5 separate regions of the Homo sapiens genome follow, and all the other regions are linked to region 1. The links are contacts of gene promoters, found by promoter capture Hi-C in blood cells and fetal thymus (Javierre and others, 2016). All regions are on one chromosome and are shown on one strand. Each heading gives the region's core, a stretch centred on a gene start or on the middle of the fragment in contact. The rest is flanking DNA. Distances are from core to core; before and after follow the strand shown.

What was found. Contacts are between HindIII fragments. The CHiCAGO score rates a contact against its expected background, and 5 or more counts as called.
Region 2: a contact is called between a fragment that was not itself captured here and the fragment with the promoter of ABCB7 in region 1, in 2 of 17 cell types (M2 macrophages and total CD8 T cells). The highest score is 5.5, in M2 macrophages.
Region 3: the fragment with the promoter of CHIC1 here is called in contact with the fragment with the promoter of ABCB7 in region 1 in 4 of 17 cell types (total B cells, naive B cells, non-activated CD4 T cells and 1 more); the score reaches 6.9 in total B cells.
Region 4: a contact is called between a fragment that was not itself captured here and the fragment with the promoter of ABCB7 in region 1, in 1 of 17 cell types (total B cells). The highest score is 5.2, in total B cells.
Region 5: a fragment that was not itself captured here is called in contact with the fragment with the promoter of ABCB7 in region 1 in 2 of 17 cell types (total CD4 T cells and naive CD8 T cells); the score reaches 5.5 in total CD4 T cells.

Annotation. Positions count from the first base shown.
Region 1 is chrX:75,153,692-75,158,031 of GRCh38, forward strand. ABCB7 (ATP binding cassette subfamily B member 7) reads right to left here and starts at 2,592. Exons shown (of 16, transcript NM_001271696.3): 1 at 2,414-2,592. The coding sequence starts at 2,581. It also overlaps a transcript of UPRT not described here. RefSeq lists an enhancer at 2,273-2,702. The HindIII fragment of the contact is 6,846 bases long and covers 1-4,340 here.
Region 2 is chrX:76,245,750-76,250,188 of GRCh38, forward strand. No RefSeq gene overlaps it. Among named protein-coding and RNA genes, the nearest start is that of PBDC1, 75 kb to the left of the region's middle. The HindIII fragment of the contact is 6,792 bases long and covers 1-4,439 here.
Region 3 is chrX:73,561,579-73,566,273 of GRCh38, forward strand. It overlaps CHIC1 (cysteine rich hydrophobic domain 1), which reads left to right and starts at 1,619. Exons shown (of 6, transcript NM_001039840.4): 1 at 1,619-2,002. The coding sequence starts at 1,707. It also overlaps the pseudogene MAP2K4P1. RefSeq lists a silencer at 1,539-1,598. The HindIII fragment of the contact is 6,151 bases long and covers 1-2,713 here.
Region 4 is chrX:76,430,486-76,435,035 of GRCh38, forward strand. MAGEE1 (MAGE family member E1) reads left to right here. Exons shown (of 1, transcript NM_020932.3): 1 at 1-857. The coding sequence ends at 319. Among named protein-coding and RNA genes, the nearest start is that of MAGEE1, 5.1 kb to the left of the region's middle. The HindIII fragment of the contact is 1,747 bases long and covers 1,899-3,645 here.
Region 5 is chrX:76,154,752-76,159,470 of GRCh38, forward strand. No RefSeq gene overlaps it. Among named protein-coding and RNA genes, the nearest start is that of PBDC1, 16 kb to the right of the region's middle. The HindIII fragment of the contact is 4,234 bases long and covers 1,115-4,719 here.

The DNA.
Region 1 (4,340 bases), core at 1,342-3,841:
CTTACAATGAATTCCAGTAATCACATACATGTGGGACTGTGTGTGTGTGTGTGTGCGTGTGTGTGTGTGTATATATATATATAAAATATATATGTGTGTGTGTATATACACATAAAAGTTCATGAAACAATACTTCACTTAAGATGTAAAAAGCACTGCTATTTTCTTTATATTCTACTGAATTTCATCTAAAAAAGTGCTAATCCAACCCACTAACATTATTTCATAACACTGCTCTAAGGTTCCTTTCAGCTCTAAAATATTATGCTATATACTAATGATCGTCCTAAAAGTATGAATTCAGTAATTATTTTGTAATCTTAATCACAAGTCACAAATTTGCAGGTACCTCAGGTTACCTCAGCTTCTACTTTGAAAACTTTGTAATCATTCCTTTCTCACCCTGTTTTAAAAAAAGGATGGCAAGAGTTCCATGCCTTTAAGAAACAGAAAACAAAGGTAACATCTTTCCCTTGTTTTGCACACTGAGGAAATGGTAACTAAAGGAAATGGTAGGATGTAAAGGACAGAGTGGAAGAAGGAAGTTGTGGAGATAGCGTTCATGGAAAGAGAGAAAGCTAAATTTGTATTGCCATTGCCTCCTCTGAGATTCCTAATAACTTCTCCTTTTCCCTCTTCCCCCTCATTCTTCCAGCTTAAGAAATTTTATCTTAAGATATCTAATTTTATCTAAGATAACATTTACAAATTTTATCTTAACTTCATCTGCCTTATTGGAGAACTACAGAACAAAAACCATTCCCAAGAGATCATGTGTTAGAAACTTTCAACCATAAAATACTTTAAAAACCTTAATGAAATCATCTAGATTCGCTTCGTTAGCCTAATCTGCTATTTCCTATCTTGAATGACTCACTACAGTCTAAACTACGTGCAGTTCTAGAAAAGGTCCATGTTCTCTCTGACTTGTGGGCCTTTGCACATGCGATTCCTTCTTTAACTGGCTAACTTCTAATTTTTCAGCTCTTGCCTTAGATATCAGTTACTTAAGGCAATCTTCACTACCTTACAATTAGACTTAATACCCCTCACATATACTGTCCCATACCTTGTACCTTTCCCATTATTACACAGCTCCACTATATTTTAATTGCCGATTAATTTACATATTTCCCACTAGATTTTAAGCTCTTTAAAGACAGGACTTATATTTTGTTTGCTCCTGTAGAGGTGTTCAATAATTACTGAATGAATTATAAATGTCATTCCATCAGCCTTCCACATGCTTAGTGTCATTCCCTATTCTCCCTGTTCAGAACATTCTCCCCAGTTCTATCACCAGCATGAAATACTCTTTATAACCTGGTCCTTAATTATCACTATTTCCTCTGGATGCCTATAGCCTTTATTGTACATACTATTCATTTGCTAATTAACCCACCACTGTGTTTTTCAGTTATTTTTGTAATGCATAGATCCAATCTCCTTAACTAAACTGTACAATCCTTGAAGGCATAACTGTATGTCTCTCTTAGTACCCTATCATCTAGCACAGGGCTATGTACAAGGTAGACGTTAAATATTTGTAGATGAAGAATCAAAATTTAAGAGGTTGTTTCTCATACAAAACTGACAATATTTTAAAGTGATAGTGATAAATACGTGGTGGCAATTAAACCTCTTGTCAATACACAGAAAATAAAAAGATATACTTTAGTACAGTTAAGTACAAATAATTTTTTAAAAAACCGTTCCTGAGTGAGAGGTAATAATGGACTCAAATTTTAGGAGGCACTACAACCATAGCTACATTCATAAGTTAAGGATAAGTAGCCTATGGCTTCCAAAATGACCTGTGCACAGAGAACATCACTGTATTTTTCAGATCTAGGACAGTCATATTTATACAAGAATTTAGGGCGGTCTATGTTTTGGAAAGATAGTTACGGTTTTGGCCTATCAAGAAGCACGCCTGTCAGCAAGGGAGTTAACTGGCGCCACCTGTTTATAGATAGCTTGCTGTCATTACAGTGCTCTCCGAATTGCTAATTCCAACTGAGTAAAATCTGAACCACAGATAAACTGTCCCAAATTCCATTACTAATTGGGGAAAATAATCCAGTCTTCCTCGTCTTTAGAAAGGCAAGCAGGCTGGGAATGGTGTCTACCCCAACTCTTAATATGAGAGAAAAACTATGACTCCGAGAGCCTCCAGCGCTCCAGGTGTCCTCTGCCCAGAACCTCCTGCCCCGTTTCCCTTTGCTGAACTCAAAGGTTTTCTTCTTCGCCCTTTCCTCAAATTACTGACGTTAATTTCCTTCACTTACTGCTGCTCCCAGTTAGCCATGACTTTCTTCTTGGTGCTCTCTCTGCCCCGAGGTCAGGAGGGCAACCTTTTCCCTACAGGTCCCCTTGCCCTTCACCCTATTCTTCCATGTCAGTGGCATCTCACCTGGTAGGCTCGAGCGGTTCCCAAGGCGCCGAGTTGATGTGGCCTCCACTGCGGACCTGAGCCGCTAACAGAGACTAAAGGCCGGATCAGAATCGCGGAGTGCCGGCGCTTTTCGAAAGCAGCCGCCGCGGCCGCCCAGCGCCAAGAATGCATCGCGAGCAGCGCCATCTTGAGCGAGGAAAGAGGAACCGAGAGAAGAGGATTATGGGACACTGGCGGACTGAATTCGGCTACCTTAATTGTCTCTCCTCTTCTTGTTTTCCCAGGGCCCCAGACCGGAAATGGATTCTGTTTGAAGATTCGGATGCATTCGCACAGCCTCTTTTATTTGTTTTTCCTTAGGGCCGAGCTTTGATTGTTTTCCTTACACAACCGGGAATATTGGAGTAACACTGTATTTTTCTCTTTTCCTGGAGTTGCCAGATGAAATACAGGATGCCTACCTAGTTAAGTTTCAATTTTACATAAACAACGAATCATCTCTTCGTGCGTGTGTCCCAAATATTGTATCTGCTAAATCTGTCAACCCCATCTTGTCTCTCATAATACTCTCTTACCTCCTCCAACTCAATGTCACGCTCCCCTCTCTCCATTTTCCCTATGCATATTCTTATCTTCACTCCCTTCTGAATTAAGGAAAGATTAAACTACAGACGTTAATTTCCCCTGGGAGGAGGCTTCAGCTGTAAGATTTACTGCTTTTCTGTCCTGTAAGGACTTTAACTTTGCTGATTGTTCTCTGTTGCGCAAACCTTGGGGCAGTTTTCCTTTGGTCTGTTGCTCGTGGGACAGTCTCACACACACACACACACACACACACACAGAGAGACTACAGACATCTTTACTAATTTTGTCACTCTTTCTAGCTCTTCGCTTTGGTTTTTGCAGCGTCCCTAATTCTTGAAAAATCGCTTAGGTTGGCTGAAGGGTGGTAAAGTGAAATGTATGGAGAGAAGACCATGTTTAAAGACAGGCTTATATTCTTTTGTCACCACTATTATCAAACAAAATGTCAAAATATGTTTACAGTTATCTAGGAAACTGCATTTCCAGTTGTAAATGTTACCTGAAACCCCGGAGACAATAATGCAGTTGCAATTTTATATTCACTGCTGCATTCTCCAACTTTTCACACAAAAGAGACAAATAATTATGGACTTCTTATGAAGAGGTACTTTGGACTAGTAAGTCTGATAAAGAAAAACAGAAATCTGTAGCCCATGCAGTTAGCTTTTTTGTTCTGGGATTCATTCAAGGGGATGCTTGAGCTAGTTATTTAAAGAAAAATAGAATTCAAGTTGAAGAGGTTGACTGGAATTACACGTAAAGAAGATGACATGTTAAAAGCAAGAAGGCATAAGAAAATATTTTCAGGTTCAGGAGTCTATGGAGTTTGGGAAAGTAGTAGGAGGTTAACCTGAGTGAACAGAGACCTGATGGTAAAGGGCCTTCTATTTCATTCTAAGAAGTTAATACTTTATCCTATAACCAGTGAAGAGTTTTAATCAGGAGAGTAACATGATCAGATTTATATGTCCATTAAGCTACTCTGGCTTAAGTGAGAAGGTTGGATTGGACGGAGTTCATATTGAAGTCATGAAGTTAATGCAATAGTTCAGTCATAAAATAAAGGCCTCAACCTAGCAGTAGCAGTGGCAGTAGATCGATTGCAGGGCAATTAGGAGATGGAATTGGCAAGACTTAGTGACTAATTGGATGTTTCTAGCTTATTATTGTATTGTTGACAGTAGATCAGTAATGGCTTCATATTAATGACTATATTGTCATCAACAAATATTTATTCAGCATCTATTCTGTGTTAGACAGCTACAGTATACATTAGAGAAACTCTAGACTCTACTAATGATTTCTCTTAGGGCTGAATATTGCCACTGAATCTTACCACCCAGTTGTAAAGTCTTTGAAT
Region 2 (4,439 bases), core at 1,879-4,378, 1.1 Mb after region 1:
TAGTAATAACTGTGAGAGGAATCTTTATTGAGCTTAGCTTCACAGATTCCTGCCCACCATGATTTGTTGCATGGAGTGCAATACACTTTCTCATGTTTCAGAAAAGGCCTGCTGTTTATCTAAAAAGTAAAACATGAGGTGTTGGCTAACAGGTTAGCAGGGTTCTTGTGTTTGGGATTGGGTGAAGCCCTAGTAGAGGATGCTAAATAGAATGTCTTTGTGAGTGTCTAATAAGAACATGATTACACCTCACAGGATGCTAATATATGCAGGTTTGGGCTCCTAATAATCTGTCACAATAACCAAAGCAATAGGAATACAAATATAATAGCAAATACCAACCAGTGTTGTAGCAGGACACTGATCAAAATCTGACTCTTTGACTCTATATAAGTGAATTCAGAGCTTCGTTGGAGCTCAGGGAAGAAGGAAGAAAATCCTGAGTTGTTTTAAACGAGAAATGACTGAGAAAACACTAAAATTGATTTATTGAACTGAAGTTGATTTTATTAAGTTTTTAGCCCATGGCTGATATGGGTACTTTAAGTTGAGTTATGTAAAAATACAAATGCTTTCTACTGAGGAATTTAAGGTTTAACCTTTCAGAAATTTATTGTTTAAGAAAATGTTCTAATTAACAGTATTGCTTTTGCTGCTTATCCTGGGTGCTGTCATACATATTTTTCCCTTTGTGCTAACTTAGCACAGTTATCATCCGCTCATGTTTTAGATAGACACTTTATATAGATTCTGGTTAAGGTCCCCAGATTAACTCCTACGAGCACCCAGTTGTACAAAGAAAATATAACTTTTCATTTTCGGCAAAGTGGCCACATTTTATTTTAGAGTCCCAGTTTTCCTCTGGGGAAGATAAAGTGGGGAGAGTAACTGTGAATAATGGCTTCTCAGCCTTTTCTCAGAAGTGTTCCTTATTGTTTCACTGGTCAATTCAAAGTTAAACTCCCTAGTTATATCTGTTTTCCCCTTACTCTCTTCCAGAATCTTGTCTCAATATATGAGAAGGCTTATTATTATTTAAGGTTCTCAACATTTTTATGCATTTATTTAAATTGACAGATTAATTTGTATGTATTTATTATGTGCAGCATGACATTTAAGTATATACATATACTGTAAAATGGTTAAATCCAGGCAATCGACAAATGCATCACCTCACATAGTCAAAATTTTTGTGGTGAGATCCCTTAACATTCAATTCTTGTGTGTTTTTTAAAAATACAATATATCATCACCACTATAGTGACCACGTTGCACAGTAGATCTCTTGAACTTATTTCTTTTATGTAACTATAGCTACGCATTCTTTGGCCACCATCTCTCAAATTCCCACTCCCTGCTAAATACCCCTGCCTTTGGTAACCACCATTCTACTCTCAACTTTTTAAGATTCCACATATGAATAAGATCATGTAGTATTTTTCTTTCTGTATTTGGCTTATTTGATTTAAGATAATGCCCTCCAGTTCATCCACATTGTCGCAAATAACAGGATTGCCATCGTCTTTATGGATGCATAGTATTCTATTGTGTAGTTTTTAAATTTGTGTTTCAGATTGTTCACTGTTGGACTATAGAAATGCTACTGATTTTTGTAAATTAGTTTTGTATCCTCTAACTTAACTGAAATTATCAGTCCTAATAGTTTTTTGTTGAGTCTTTAGGTTTTTTCAAATATAAGATTATATCTTTTGCAAATAAGGAAAATATGACTCCTTTCCTTTCAATTTGGATACCTTTCATTTCATTCTCTTGTCTGATTTTGCAGCTTGAACTTTCAATACTATTTTGAATAACAGTGGTGCAAGTGGGCATCCTTGTGTTCCAGATCTTAGAGGAAAGGCTTTCAGTTTTTCCCCATTCAGGATAACACTAACTGTGGGTCTGTCATATATGCCTTTTATTACGTTGAAGTATATTCCTTCTATACCAAGTTTTTTTAGGGTTTTTATTATAAAAGGGCATTTGATTTTATCAAATGGTTTTTCAGCATCAATTAAAATGATCATATGGTTTTATCCTTCATTTGATATGATGTATTACATTGATTTGCATATGTTGAACCGTTCTGACATCCTGAGAATAAATCCCTCTTCCCAGTGATAATCTAACTAACGTATTTTGAATTCCACTTGCTCATATTTTGTTGAAGATTTTTGCATCAATATTCATCAGTGATATTGGCCTGTAATTTCCTTTATTCCATGTGTCTTTGGTTTTTGTATCAGGATAACATTGGCTTATAGAATGAGTTTGGAAGTATTCTCTCCTCTATTTCTTGGAATGGTTTGAGTACAATTGGTATTAGTTCTTTAAATGTTTGGTAGAATTCAGCAGTTAAGTCATTTGGTCCTGGGCTTCTCTTTACTCAAAAACTTATTATTATGGCTTCGATCTTGTTACTTGTTGTTGGTCTTTTCAGGTTTTGGATTTCTTTCTTGTTCAATCTAGGTATGTTGTATGTGTCTAGAAATTTGTCAATTTCTTCTAGGTTTTCAAATTTATTGGCTTATAGTAGCCACTAATGATTGGTTCATAGTAGCCACTAGTGATTTTTGAATTTCTGCAGTATCTGCTGTAATGTCTCCTTTTTCATGTCTGATTTTATTTACTTGGATCTTCTTTCTTTTTTTCTTTGTTAATCTGGCTAAAGATTTTTCAATTTTGTTTAGCTTTTTAAAAAAACAAACTTTTTGTTTCATTGATGTTTTGTATTTTTTCATTTAATTTTATTTATTTCTGCTCTGATATTTATTATTTCTTTTCTTCTACTAACTTCATATTTTGTTTGCTCTTGCTTTTCTAGTTCTTTAAGATGTATCACTAAATTGCTACTTTGAAGTTTTTCTTTTTTTGATGTTGCCACTTATAGCTATAAATTTTCATCTTAATACAACTTTTGCTGTATCCCATAGATTTTGGTATGTTTTATTTCCATTATCATTTCCTTTAATAATTTTTTCATTTTTTTTTCTAAATTCCCTCATTGATGCCCTGGTAATTCAGGAGCATATTGTTTAATTTTTATGTATTTTCATAGTTTTCAAAGTTGCTCTTCTTATTAATTTCTAGTTTTATTCCGTTGTGGTCAGAGAATATGCTTAATATTATTTCACTTTTTTAAAATGTTTTAAGACTTGTTTTATAACCTAACATATGGTCTATCCTTGAGAATGATTAATGTGTTGAGGCAAAGAATGTGTATTTTGTAGCCATTGCATGAAATATCTGTAAATCATTAGATCCATTTGTTCTATAGTTCAAATGAAGTCTGATATTTCTTTGTACATTTTTTTGTCTGAAAGATCTGTCCAGTGCTGAAAGTGAGGCATTGAAGTCTCTAACTATTATTGTATTATTGTATTGGACTCTATATTTCTCTTTAGCTCTAATTATATCTTGCTCGATTTTCACATATCTGGGTGCTTCAGTGTTGGGTGTGTTACCAGCGATGGGTCTGCAACTGGTGGCATTTCCACAGCAATTCCAGCCCTTGTCTTCTTAGAAAAAAGAGTTCAACTGAGAGATGGAGGCAAATTTTAAAGCAGAGGCAGAGTTTTGTTAAAAGAAGCAAAGTACATTTGGAAGATGGCCAAGAGAGGAACTTGAGAGATCAAGTGCCATGCTCAGTCTGTGGCTTGGGATTTTTATATCCTGTATTGGTTCCAGGTTTTCTTTTCTATTCCCTTGATTTATCCCTCCCTTGGGCTGGGATATTTCTTTGATTCATGAACAGTGACCTGTCATCACTTTCGAGGGGCCACATGTGCAGTGTGTTTACTGAGGTTGTGCCCATGCTCACTTGGGGCATTTCTTTTACTGATCGAGTGCCCCCAGAGGAAGGCCATATACCAGTCAAACTTGGTCATTTTGCCCCCTACTGTGCATATTTAAGACCTTATCAAGGAATTGTGGTTTGCTGGCTCCAGATATCTCCTATCCTTTGGGAACTTCTCTACCGCTTAGTGCCAGTCGTGGCCACTTATCATTTCAGAGAAACAGTTTTATGATTGCCTAACCATCATCTAATGAGTGCCTACATTTCTAGGGCCCTCACTTATTATCCTAGAAGAAGAAGTTGTATAATCACCCGGTTATCAGCCAGTGAGTGCCTGCCATTTTGGCAGGGCCCTCTCCCACTCTGCTCATATCTGTATAACTACCTACTCTAACATTCTGCCTTCAAAAGTCTGAGACCCAATTCTTTGGGATAATGGGTGAAGGTCAGTCTTCTGTAACTGCTTCTTGCTGACAGAGGGGCAGTGTTTGGCCCATGGGTCTCAGACTCTTGCTAGTTGTCAGGGAAGGGTGGCTCCATAGGCCAGCAACAGTGGTGCCCAACCAGGTTCAATGAACACAGGTAGGGTTTTGCCTCTGTCATATTCCGCTGATGGGCAATCCAGTGGTCCCCTATAGAAGGC
Region 3 (4,695 bases), core at 369-2,868, 1.6 Mb before region 1:
CGCCACCGCGCCCGGCTAATTTTTTTTGTATTTTTAGTAGAGACGGGGTTTCACCTTGTTAGCCAGGATGGTCTCGATCTCCGACTTATTTTTAAAGTTCCCTAAATAAACCAACTTTTGAATAAAAATGGGCTTTTCATTTTAATAACACATACTCCTTGATGATAATGGTTTGATTCATTTCTCTTACAGAACTAATTTCTTCCTACTTCACACACATTAAATGCTTTGTTTATACTGATAATGTCGTGCTCATCCTAAATTAAAGTTTGACTATGTCTGTTTCCCCAGAGACACACCATCTGATTGGGATGCAGCCGTAGAGTAGCAGAAAGAGCAGTGAAGCTGGTATTAGAATGCCTGGATTACAGTGTTTGTTCTGTTACTTAGCAGCTGTGTGACTTTACTGTCTTAATGATATGGATTTTTGTGCTGCTGCCAAGTATGAAACAGTTTGGCACACTATTTAGATACGCAAAATATGTGATCCCCACAACATTTTAGTGAGTGTAAAGAAGATAGGATAGACCATTTAAAATGGAAAATTTTGAACAAAAGGTCACCATAGACTTGAATAAATTACTTAAACTTCTGAGACCCACTTTTGTCATGTAATAAAATAGATATAATGATACTTACCTCTCAGGATTAAGGGTTAACTGAAATATTGTATGTGAGGGTCTAGCTCAGTGTCTGGAAAATGGATGATGTTAATTAAGGTTTCCTTAGGTTGGAATGCTCCTTTCACCCCCTCCATCCGCCCCCTCCCCCAAAAAACACTCCAAAATTCAAACATGCATATTCTGATTCATCTTTTAAGGAAGAGCCCAAGAGGCACCATTCTACAAAATCTTTCCAAACAACTTCAGGCAGTACAGCCCTTTGGTTAAGAGTACTGGGCTTCTGGAATCAGAAGAGACCACCAAATTTAAAACCAGGTCTCCCATTTAGTAGCTCCCTGACACTGGACAAATTACTTATTTTCTCTGCACCTAGATTTCCCATCTGTAATATAAAATCATCATGATACATACCTCATAGGGTTGCAGAGGATTAAATGAGATATACATACAGAGCACTTAGCACAGTCCCTGAGTTAATAAGTCCTCCGTTAAGTATTACATAGGAGAAGTAGTAAAAAGTTTCCTCTTAAGTAAAATGCTAATAAAAGTGCTTACCCTGCCTCCCAAGATTGTGGCAAAGTTATGACGCAAGGCTTTTAAACTGTAATGCTGAACAAACGTAAGGGATTGGTATATACCTTGAGATATTTTGGACAAAGTTCTAACCTTACTTTTATACAATATGCTTTCTCTCACCCGCCTGCAGTTGGGTTAATAATGCCCAGCATTAATTAATAAGCAATAAAATCAGAAGATACCCCGAATACAAGTAGCTGACGCTCAGAGAGCAGTATTAAGGCGAGCACCCGCAGACCGGACCTGGATAACTCCTTGGAGTTCACCTCTAGCGGCCCCCTCCCCTTGGAGCTGCGCAAGCGTACACTGACTTTGCTCCTCTCTAGTGCCCCCGCCTCCAGCAGCCGCCCCCCCACCCCCCCGTCTGCCCAACACGCAGGCGCGTCTCCTCAAATCCTGTCCCTACACCCCTCCTCTTTCTCTTCATTTCGTTCCCCCTCCTCTTGCAGCACCTCGGCAGGTTCAAACTCTTCTCCGGGAGCGTGGCGGCGATCGCGAGGTCACGTGATGAGCATCCTGCTGCCCAACATGGCGGAGTTCGACACCATCTCGGAACTGGAGGAGGAGGAGGAAGAAGAAGCGGCAACGTCGTCGTCGTCGCCGTCGTCGTCGTCGTCGGTATCTGGGCCCGACGATGACGAGGAGGATGAGGAGGAAGAGGAGGAAGAGGAGGAGGAGGAAGAAGAGGAGGAGGAGGAAGAGGAGGAGGAAGCGCCGCCCCCGCCTCGGGTAGTGAGCGAGGAGCATCTGCGGAGATATGCTCCCGACCCTGTATTAGTGCGGGGTGCCGGCCACATCACTGTGTAAGCGAGAGGGGGTCTTGGGACTTGAAATGCCTGAGATTTGGCAACAGAGGAATGAGAAGTGATCGAGGGGCCTGTGGAGTGGGGGAGGGTTGACTGATTGACTGAGGCGTACACTTAGGAAAGGACACCTGGTCTAAATGGGGAAACCATGGGTGGATACGTGTGAAGGAAGTGAGGAGAATGTAAATATGATGCACCAATGCCAGGTAAAGAGTGAGTATAGGAGAGGGAAGTTAGGGGTTTGGGAGCCAGAGCGATTGGAGTAGGGGTGAGTCTCCTTTCTTGTATGTATGCTGGCAAGTGAACAGTCTCTAAACTGCAGGATGTACCAGAGGGTTTTTTGCTGACAAGATTGATACTTTGTGGGAAACAGCAATTGCTGTGACATGTGACAAGAACTAGGCTTGCATTCTTCAAAACAGAAACATGATATATTTTGTGAATAATAATAGAATGTTCATTCACCCACGTATTCATCCATCCATTCTTCCTATCGAATCCTTCCTTATATATCACTCGATTAGAGGTTCAGGATGAGAGGCAGCTATGGAAAGTAGAAAAAGAAATGGATTGAGTCAGGGCTCTTAGACGCTGGTCCCGGTTTTGCTTCTTACTGGCCCTGTGACCTTGGTCAGGTTGCTTTTTCTCATTTCTGCGCCTTGATTTCTTCATCTCTAAAATGAAGGGTTTGGAGTAGATGGTTTCTAAAGCTTTTCAGTTCTGAGATAATTTACCTCCAAGGGATTTTGTATGCCCAAGTATGAAATATACAGGCATTAAATATATATGGAAATTAATACTTTGGGAGCTGAGCATAATTTCTTTAAAATTTATCCAGGGTGGTTTTTTAAAAAATTGAAATCTTGAGGAAAAATTGAATATTTCAGAAAATAAAATGGGGAGGGACTTCATAACAGCTACAAGGCAAAAATGTTGATGATTCTCCGGGATTTAAAGAGTGCTTCCTCATTTTTATTTGCTTGGACCATAACTATTTGGAAGTTTGAGTACTGTGTCATGTTCATCCTCTGAACTATGCTATCTTTTACTGCATTTTCAAAATAGGTTGCCTTTTGTTGTTATGTCATGCTGCCTCTGGTTTTGATAATGGCTCACCTAGTCCCTTTGACTTTCAATTGAGTTCATGTTACATTAAATCATATATATGCTACCTCCCTTATATTAGCTTCAATTTTTAACATGTTGAGTTTTTTTTTTTTTTTTTTTTTTTGAGACAGAGTCTCACTCTTTTGCCCAGGCTGGAGTGCAGTGGCGCAATCTTGGCTCACTGCAGCCTCTGCCTCCCAGGTTCAAGCAATTCTCCTGCCTCAGCCTCCTGAGTAGCTGGGACTACAGGCGTGATATGTTGAGTATTTTAATTGTAATATACTTTCGTAATCTTTGCATCAAATATATTAACAAATATTTTGAAATTGGGGAAGTGTTGGGGGAGGGTTTTAGAGCTGCTTTTTGATTAGGAAATTTTAAGACAATTTTTCTTGGTCCAAGAATTTTGCAGATAGCCTACAATATTCAGATGCCAACTTATTGCACGGTTTTACTTCCATTCCTTTTGTCACTAGGGAGACAATTTATTACTCAAACTAATTATGATGGCTGGTACCAAAGGTTACTTTTATGCAGATTATGTTACATGACCGTTTAGTCCATAATTTTATACTCCAACATTCCACCTCCACATTTGCAAAATTCAGGCAAAGGAGAAGGAACAAGAAAATAAAATTTAAGTTACCTGAAATTTATTTATGGTTCCATTCGACCCTGCACAGGTACTTACCAACCTATTTGCTTCATTAGAAGAACACTGACACTTGCCATGCCCAGGCCCTTCTGATTGGTATAATGTCCTTCTAATTAGGAGCATGCGGGTAGTACTGTTGGTATTCATTGACTGAAACCAAAACCTGAAAAGAAGCAAACCAGTACTAGACTCACTAACCATTGTATATACTTTGGAAACTTATTTAGTTTTGTTGTACACATTCTTATACCTAGAAATCACATATGATATTAAATGTCTTGGGATTTGAAAGAGATTACATGTCTTGGAGAAAATTTAACTGGATCTGAGAAATGGGTCTTTGTATGGTAGTGAAGCCTTCCTTTTATCAGTTAAAGTAATATCCTTATGAAGTAGGTAATCTTATTCTGCGACTTCTAAAATATCAACTTCTGTTTATTTTTTTTCTGGCATAGGAGTGTTAGAGTTGCCTTAAACTATATACCCTATCTGAATGAAATATTTAATATTCTCTACCAGCCCTGATTTTTTTCCATTCTTTGTGCAGCCTTCTGTTGTATAGAGCATTTTGTTTCTTCTCAAAGTTTAAAATTTGAGAGCCCTCACCTCAAACTCAGTATATTTTAAGCTCAACATCCTCTCCACATTGCCCGTGCTTTTCATTTGTTTCATTTCTTTCCTTGATGCCACCATTCTGATCTCCCAGGGTAACATTCAAAACCTTTGAGTCATTTTGACTCTTCCTTCTCCTTGAATTGCCCTGTGTCAGTCTGCCCCAGAATTATATCATCATAGTTTCTGAAATATCTCTTAGATTTTTCATTTTCTCATTCCTATTTGGCACCACTCTAGTTTGGGTTGCCATCATCTCCTGCTTGACTTATTGCCACAGTCTGCTGCCTCTCCCTACTCCAGTCCATCCTGTGTG
Region 4 (4,550 bases), core at 1,522-4,021, 1.3 Mb after region 1:
CAGGGAGTCTGCAGTCTGGGCCTTTCTGCGGGGCTTAGGGGTTCAAGCTGGGAGAAAGCATGTGATTACCTGCAGATACTTGAGTCAGCGCTATATAGACAGTTTACGGGTTCCTGACAGTGATCCAGTGCAATATGAGTTTGTATGGGGTCCTAGAGCCCGTTTGGAAACCTCTAAGATGAAAGCCTTGCGATATGTGGCCAGAATCCACAGAAAGGAACCACAGGACTGGCCACAGCAGTACAGGGAGGCAATGGAAGATGAGGCCAATAGAGCTGATGTTGGGCACAGGCAAATCTTTGTTCACAACTTCAGGTAGAGGAATGCATGGCAGTCAGAGGGGCCTTGCAAGGAGGGGCCTTTGAGCCTCAGTTCTCATGTATTGGGGGGTGGGGGTGGGTACATATTGTATTTGGTATTTGTGTTCCAGTTATATTTATGTCTTTTCATATTTAGTTCTGGTGTGGTGTCTGGAAATGTTTCAACTGTTTTAATATATTGTCTGATTGGGTAAATGTGATTGACCACTTGCTGTCTCTGTTGTATTTTGGTATGAGTTTTGATAGCTCTATAAAATGTTTTGGAAATCTTTCCATCTTGTTGCATTATCTAGAAAAGAATATAGCATATAGCTATAGATATAGGCTTTTCCTTGAAAGCTTGAAAAAAATTCGCCAGTAAAATAATCTAGCTTAAAGTGATAAACTAACAAACAAATATAACAACAACTGAAAAGGCACTCTAAATTGTGGCTGGCTTCCCTTTCTGTCTGCTATTGTATGAAGAATACTGATGTTTACCTGTATTTGCTTTGCTGTACTAAAATGTAATGAAAAATAAAAGATTAATAAATGAAACATAATGCTAATACACTGACTTATTCAACTGCTTTCATACAGTGAGCACAGTGGTGTGCCCTAGTTATAGAAGTATAAAAGTTTACAAGATATAGTACCTGCCCAAGAATTCAGAGGCTGGATAGGGTACAGGGGGAGGTCATTTAAATCACCAATTTATTATGGTGTACTATGTGCTACAATAGAAAAATAGAGAGTGCTATGGTAGTTAAAAAGAGGCACAACTGACCAATTCCTGGGGTGTTCAGGGTGGTCCTTAAGGAAGCTGTTGGGTATGTGGGGTGGGGACAAGATGGGGTCTTTTTTTTTTTTTTTTTTTTTGAGACAGAGTCTCGCTCTGTTGCCCAGGCTAGAGTGCAGTGGCATGATCTCGGCTCACTGCAACCTCTGCCTCCTGGGTTCAAGAAATTCTCCTGCCTCAGCCTCCAGAGTAGCTGGGACTACAGGCAAGTGCCATCACACCCAGCTAATTTTTGTATTTTTAGTAGAGACGGGGTTTCACTATTTTGGCCAGGCTGGTCTCAAACTCCTGACCTCGTGATCTGTCCACCTCAGCCTCCCAAAGTGCTGAGATTACAGGCGTGAGCCACCGTGCCCAGCCAAGATGGGGTCCCTAATACAATCATGAATTAAACTGATTCAAGGCTGGATTTCAGTCTTTATGTGTGCTGGTAGGAAAAAAAGTCAAAGATGTAAGGCCAGAGAGCAGGATATATTGTGTCATCAATGGTTTCAATAAGATACATGAGCCAGCTTTCTCTAAGTTATGCTGTGGGTTTTTAAAAAATACCCAAATCTCAGAGGCTTACAACAACAAAATTTTGGGCTCATTTTACATCCCTTTCATGGGCTGTCTGTGATTCTGTTTATATTGTCTTCCTTCAGGTAACCAGGCTAAAGGAGTAAATCATATATGGGACACCTGTTCTTGTGGCAGAAGTAAAAGAGCCATAGTGGAACCATGTGATAGTTTTCAAAGCCTATGCTCATATATGGCATATTGTAGTCATAATCCATTGGCAAAAGCAAGTCACATGGGCAAGCTTGATGTCAATGAGCTGGGAAGTGTACTCCTTCTACAGGGAAGAACATATAGGAATGGGCCCAGTAGAGAGGAAGAACATATATTTTTGAATAAAAAATTAGTCTACCATATAAGAATTTGGCTTTAGTTGTGAGTGAGATGGAAAACTATTTAAGGCTTTTGATCTGAGCGATGGCAGGAAACCACTTAGTTTTGACAGGATTCTTTTGGCTCTCATATTGAAAAACTAAAGGGGGTGGGGAGGGCAGAAACTCTAATTTTAGCATAGTAATTTCTTCTTAATGTACCTATGAAAAGAGGTGTTATTTTCTGAACAAAATCAAATTTAAAGAAATTGAAGTCAGAAAGCCTGTTATCTTTTAAAAAACACCTTGGAAATCAAACTCCGTGGTATCAAGGTTAAAAGGCATTAGAACATAGTAGTAAGAGCATGTAGTCTAGAGTCAAAGTGCCTGGGTACAAACCCTGGCTCTCTCTGATACTAGAGATGAGAACTCAGGCAAGTTACTTAACTCCTTTGTGCCTCCATTTTTTCATCTGTAAAATGGGCATAATAATTTCACCTACGCCATAATGTTGGGGATTAAATGTGTTAACATGTAAAACACAAGAGCACTTGACATGTAGTTAGCAATATATAAGTGATATTGTTGCATGTTGATTTTTTCCAGGAATGAGACTGTGAGTGATTTCCTTGCAGAAATTTTACTGGGGAGTTGTTTTGGGTTCAACAGGTGTGGGGAGCAAGAGAAGCAGAATTGTGTAGAAAGAGAAGTCGAGCAGTGATTCAGTCACAGCAAATAAATTAACTGATTCCACAGGGAGCTCTGGAGTTGGTGTGGTCCTGCAGAGTTGTCCCAAATTAGGAAAAAGAGGCCAAAGTTTTATCCCACCATACTCACCAGTCGTTGGATGCAAACTGCCTCCTGGTAAGGGGCTATGACTTTTTGAGAGTCAGTTCTTTTCAGCTGAGAGTAATCCCTGAGAAAGGTACTCAGCTGTAAACACAGCAGCTGTCATCACCCTCAAGAGCTGGAGGAATGAGTAATGTGATCCTGAAGAGTAGGAGCATCTGGGTGATACATCACAATCTCCACTACAGTTGTTGCTGTTTTTATTGGTTTCCTTCCCCTCCCCTCCTACTCTTTAATAATAATTCTTCCTCTTCTTCTTCTTTCTCTTCTTCATCATCCTCATCTCTTTCCCCTTTCCTCTTCCCACCTTCTCCTCCTTGTTATTATCACTATTACTATTGTTATAATCTAAAAGAATTACATATCTTCTTATATCATTACTAATATTTTTTTTAAAAAATCTGTAAAGATTACATATATTCTTATTGTTCTGCCTGGGATATAACACCCACATCACTGAATCGTTTTACTCTTCGCACAACCTTCCTGAGAGAGAGGCTCTGATAATAGAGCTTCATTTACTTCTTAAGTTCTGTATTAGTTCTCTATTCTTTTCATGTTTCTTAGTAGACTTGTGTGTTATCCAATTGTTGCCAGAAGATGTTACCTAAGCAAGTTTCTTGGTTGTTTGTCATTTAAATATTGCGAACTATTTTTCTCTCAGATAAACTTGACCAACATGCACAAACATTCAGAATATCCCACTAAAGACAACCAAGGAAGAAAATACGTTTTTTTTCATGCATTTCTCTCAAAAGTAACCATTTTGGTCTCAGAAAATGTCTGATTAAATGTCTTTGTTCAAATGCACCTGTTAGATTAGGATGCAAGCTTTTGTTTCAAGATTCCATGTGTTCAGTGGAGGGTCGTGCTCTCATGATTACATGAATGTGTACTATTTTTTAAAAAAGGATCTTGTCATTCTGCGTTAAGGTAATGATCATTGACTTGTGTCAAACCCTGCAAAGAGCTACAGTCAATGTGACTGACTAATTGCTGTACTCATCTGTGGTGGAATGGAAAAGCTTCTAAACTTCACAGGAGAAGTCTCTTCTCTTTATGTAGAGAGAAATCATGGGTGGGACTCTGGTGATTGTCTTCACATTGTTATTCAATCTTGCCAATGAATGGTTCTGTAAGATTTCCCCTTTTGCCTAAGAAGTTATGTAGCCACTTAATCTAATCTAAGTAACTGCTAAAGTTCTCTAGGTTATCCACATATCTCAGATGATGACTCATCAAAATTGATTAAAAACAATTATTTCCCCAAAATTGAATTTGAGATACAGCCTTAAAAATTGGTAGATTGAACAGAAAGGATGATTATGGAAATTCACAACTGTGATCCTTTGTTGGTAGAGTGGATAGCGGAAAAGCAGTCATTTTGAGATGAATGTGGGGTTTGATTGTTTTGTTTTGTTTTGTTTTTTGATGAGTGAGATAACTTTGCTCTGTCTTCCTGGATTAGACTATTTCAAGTAGTAACAGTGATAGAAATCAGGTAGGTAAATGGAAGTCATCATATTTTGATGAAAATATGTGAGGCAGTAAAATACCCAGTTCTCAGATAATCATATAAAGTGTAAAAACTACTTTAAAAGGCTAACAAGAAGAAAAACACAGTAGCTAAAGTATGAAAGGAAGGAAATTAGAAAATGCCAAGGTTTTTTTTCAGTGCATTTGCTAAAATTGAAGAAGAGTTATTGTTTCTACTGCTTTCTTTCTTGGAAATGT
Region 5 (4,719 bases), core at 1,982-4,481, 1.0 Mb after region 1:
AATTTAAAAGAAAAAAACAACTCCATCAAAAAGTGGGAAAAGGATATGAACAGACACTTCTCAAAAGAAGACATTTATGCAGCCAACGAACATATGAAAAAAAGCTCATCACCACTGGTCATTAGAGAAATGCAAATCAAACCACAATGAGATATTATCTCACGCCACTTAGAATGGCGATCATTAAAAAGTCAAGAAGCAACACATGCTGGTGAGGCTATGGAGAAATAGGAACGCTTTTCCACTGTTGATGGGAGTGTACATTAGTTTAACCATTGTGGAAGACAATGTGGCAATTCCTCAAGGATCTAGAACCAGAAATACCATTTGACACAGGCATCCCATTACTGAGTATACACCCAAAGGATTATAAATCATTCTACTATAAAGACACATGCACACGTTTGTTTATTGCGGCACTGTTCACAATAGCAAAGACTTGGAACCAACCCAAATGCCCATCAATGATAGACTGGATAAAGAAAATGTGGCACATACATGCTATGGAATACTATGCAGCCATAAAAAAGAATGGGTTCATGTCCTTTGCAGGAACATGGATGAAGCTGGAAGCCATCATTCTCAGCAAACTAACACAGGAACAGAAAACCAAACACCGCATGTTCTCACTCATAAGTGGGAGTTGAACAATGAGAACACATGGACACAGCGAGTGGAATATCATGCACCAGGGCCTGTCGGGGGTGGGGGACAAGGGGAGGGAGAGCATTAGGACAAATACCTAATGCATGCGGGGCTTAACACCTAGACAAGGGGTTGATGGGTGCAGCAAACCACCATGGCACATGTATACCATATCACAAACCTGCATGTTCTGCACAGGTATCCCAGAACTTAATGTAAAATAAAATAAAATAAAGAAAGAAAAAATAAAAGGAAAGAAAAATCCTGCCTATTGGGCTCATTTATAGAACCACTTGAAAACCGCCCTTGTCAAGTAAAAATTTTCCAACAAGTAACCCCTTAGAAATGCAGCCTTCTTGTATACACATTATAGGATTTCATCAGTGTACAGGTGCACCAGGTGGCCTTGGGGTAAAGATAGATTAAAGATCATAAATAATTATCTGCATTTCAGTGTTAAGGCCCAGAAAGCTTCCCTTGCTTCCTTTTACCTCAGTGAATGCCCTCAGGCAATGCTTCTGGAGCCAGCTTACTCAATCTTTTCTCACCAGTAATGCCAGCCCTTCATTCCAGATTTTGTTGTTATATTTAACCCACCATATGCACTTGAAATCCTTACTTGAGAAAACTTGGAAAGTAGGGGAAGGTTTTCACAATAAATGAAAAAGTTGCCATAATTCTACAACCAATGTATAATGACTCTTAGTTCTTTAGTTTACTTCCCAATTGACTCTTTTCTATGGGAGTAAAATAATGTTGTATGCATGCTACTATGATGATATTAAATGGTGTCACTTGCTACATTTCAGGTATTGTTGGGTATGTGTGGTTACTATCATAAATGACTTTCCTGTTTTCTTTCGCCCACCCATCTTTCACAGAAAAAGATACTTAATATCAAAGTTAATCAGGTAATAAAAATTTTAATCATGGTGAGATACTATTTCTTTTCTATCAGATAACTCTTTGATTTGGGGACTAAAAAGGGTACTAGAAAATGACATCCTTAGGAAGTAATATCCGGGAAGCTCAGCTTGGCCAACTACGTAACACTGTGGCTATTTGAGGAAAGTGGTGATTTTGAAGAGAGGACTACATTGCCTTCTCAGGTGTGTCTCCTTTGCCCAGCTCCCATGGGATCAAATATGAATCCAGTGAGGGCTGCAAGTTATATTTATGAGTTCAGAAACAGTGCAAGTCACTTGGCACAGCCTAAATAACTCCATCTGAAAGCAGTTGGTCAGTGCAACTGGTGGGCCGGTGGTCAAAACAAAGGTTACTCTTGTGCCACCAGCACCAAGGAGCCATTCTTAGAGATGTCTGGTTATTCCTTGGTCCAGAGCCCTGAATTATCCTGTAGATGTGTCTGAATCAGAACAGAGTAAATACCAAGTTAGCAGGAAAAGCTCATCACTACTCTCATTCCTATCTCTCCTCTGGCTGCTCACCTAGTGAGCTCTGCAGCAATATGCTTAGTAGCCCCAGCCAGGGTGTGATGGCCACCAATGTTATCACCAGGCTTAGACAGAGGAAGGCTTGATGTTATATTCTGACATACAGTGCCATATCCTTACCTGAGAATGGAATGGAATGACAAAGGAGATCTGAATTATGGGTGTGAGAAAAGTTTCAGACAATTCTGAGTGAAAAATTAGTCCAATTCCTAAATGACCAAATTGTTCTGATTAGTTAGAAAAAAAGCACAACGGAGGCAGAAACTTTTCTACATTTCTAGCTGAGAAAATTTAAAGATGGGGCTTGAATTACCAAGTGTTAATAGTATTTAAAAATGTTTTATGTTTCTATGAAAAATTGCTCTGTGACTATAAGAAAGTAAAACAAGAAAGAAGGAAGAAAGGAAGCATTGAGACAGAGTAAACAAAGCCAATGAAGGGAAGGAGAAAACAGGGACGATATATAGAGAAAAAGCATGGGCTCAGTTCATTTTCCTCTTTAAAATCCAGAGCTACCTGCCTCTAAAGTTCAAAGTCTTGTCTATAACATCCTGGTGTTGTGCTTTCTGAGTGGGGCTTTCAGAACTTCCCTTGGGGAAAGCCTATGATGCACTGCAAAGAGATGGGCATGTCTGAGGTCAGTGCACATCCAGTGTGATAGCCCCAACTCACCACAGTATCAAGGAGTTGCAGCTGGACCCACAAGTACTAGGGCTAACATATGCCTATTTCTCCCCCATGCTCAACCTAGGTATCTCCCTTAGCAGATGTGGAGCAAAATAACCTTTGCAGAAAATAATCTTAGAGCTTAAACCTGAGCTATGTCTGGAAAGTCCATGGCATTCTGAATAATCTATAATTTACTGAGCATTTGCTGTATTCTAGTCCCTGTGCTAAGAGCTCATACATTCATGTCTTATATAATTCCATCATTGAAATAAGCACATAAGTCAAATGTGTCTGTAATCTTCACTTTCAAAGTGAAGAAGCCAAGACTCTGCATTTAAGAGACTTGCCTAAGTTCACATAGATAATAAAACTCAGTTACCTCCGAAATAAAAGATGACATAACTTTAACCACAAACCATCATGGCCCTGAAACTATGAGAGTAAGGTTGGTAACTTCCAAGGAGGAGGTGAATTTAAATCTATCCTGATTCCAGATCATTTGTACTGCCCCTGGTATAGTTGGAGAGGTGTCACTCTTTTTCTTTTTCTTTTCTCTCTCTCTCTCTCTTTTTTTTTTTTTTTTTTTTTTTGAGATTGGGTCTCACTCTGTCACCCAGGCTGAAGTGCAGTGGCATGATCTTGGTTCACTGCAACCTCCACCTCCCAGGCTCAGGTGATCCTCCCGCCTCAGCCTCCCACGTAGCTGGAACCACCACGCCCAGCTAATTTTTTGTATTGTTAGTAGAGACGGAGTTTTGCCCTGTTGCCCAGGCTGGTCTCGAACTCCTGAGCTCAAGCGATCCACCCATCCTGGCCTCCCAAACTGCTGGGATTACAGGCATGAACCACCACACCCGACCCACTCTTTTTCTTAAATGCATTCATGCACATGCATATGTACATATGTGCACACACATACTCATATACTAACACAGACTGGTATGGGACAGTCTGAGTCTTATGTGATCCATACTCAGCAGTTAACAATAATTATTTCTGTACCCTTACCTATGGAAGACATTCAATCAAAAGTGGCAATTGCTAAGGTTTTCATGGGAACTTAATGTGTCAGGAGATTTTAACCTTAACCTTAAGATGTATTCACTTCAGGAGTCAAGCGCCTTCCAGCATGGTCACAGGATAGTTTTCATGTCTTTGTCTTCCAGTAATGCTTTGAATGTATTGTCATTAATCCATTCATGCAACAAAAAGTCATGGCACTCCTCTAATATGTGTCAGCCACTGTGCTATTCCTTGGAATCACTATCATTATAATTACTACTGTCTTTTTTTTTTTTTTGGTAATGGTCAGTTTTAGTATAACAATATATCTCACTAGGATGAGTGCATTATAAGAGGGTACTGTGCATTTTTCATCACTACATGTCTAGGTCTTAGACACATATGGACATAGCTCTGAGTAGGCGATCAACAAATATGGGGGATTAAATGACAAATTTCATGGGGTATATAGCGTATGTAAGAAATAAGGAACACTGGAGCCCTGGCTGGCAAGATGGCCAAATAAGAACACCTCCAGTCTGCAGCTCCCAGCGAGATCAATGCAGAAGGTGGGTGATTTTTACATTTCCCACTAAGGTACCCAGTTCATCTCACTGGGACTGGTTGAACAGTGGGTGCAGCCCAAGGAGGGTGAGCCAAAGCAGAGTGGGGTGTTGCCTCACCAGGGAAGCGCAAGGGGTCCGGGAGCTCCCTCTCCTAGCCAAGGGAAGTCATTAGGGACTGTACTTTGCACTTAGGCCCAGATACTGTGCTTTTCCCACAGTCTTGGCAACCCACAGACCAGGAGATTCACTCTGGTGCCCACACCACCAAGGCCCTGGGTTTCCAGCACAAAACTGGGCGGCCATTTGGGCAGACACTGAGCTAGCCGCAGAAGTTTTTCATACCCCAGTGGCACCTGGAACGCCAGCAAGACAGAACCGTTCAC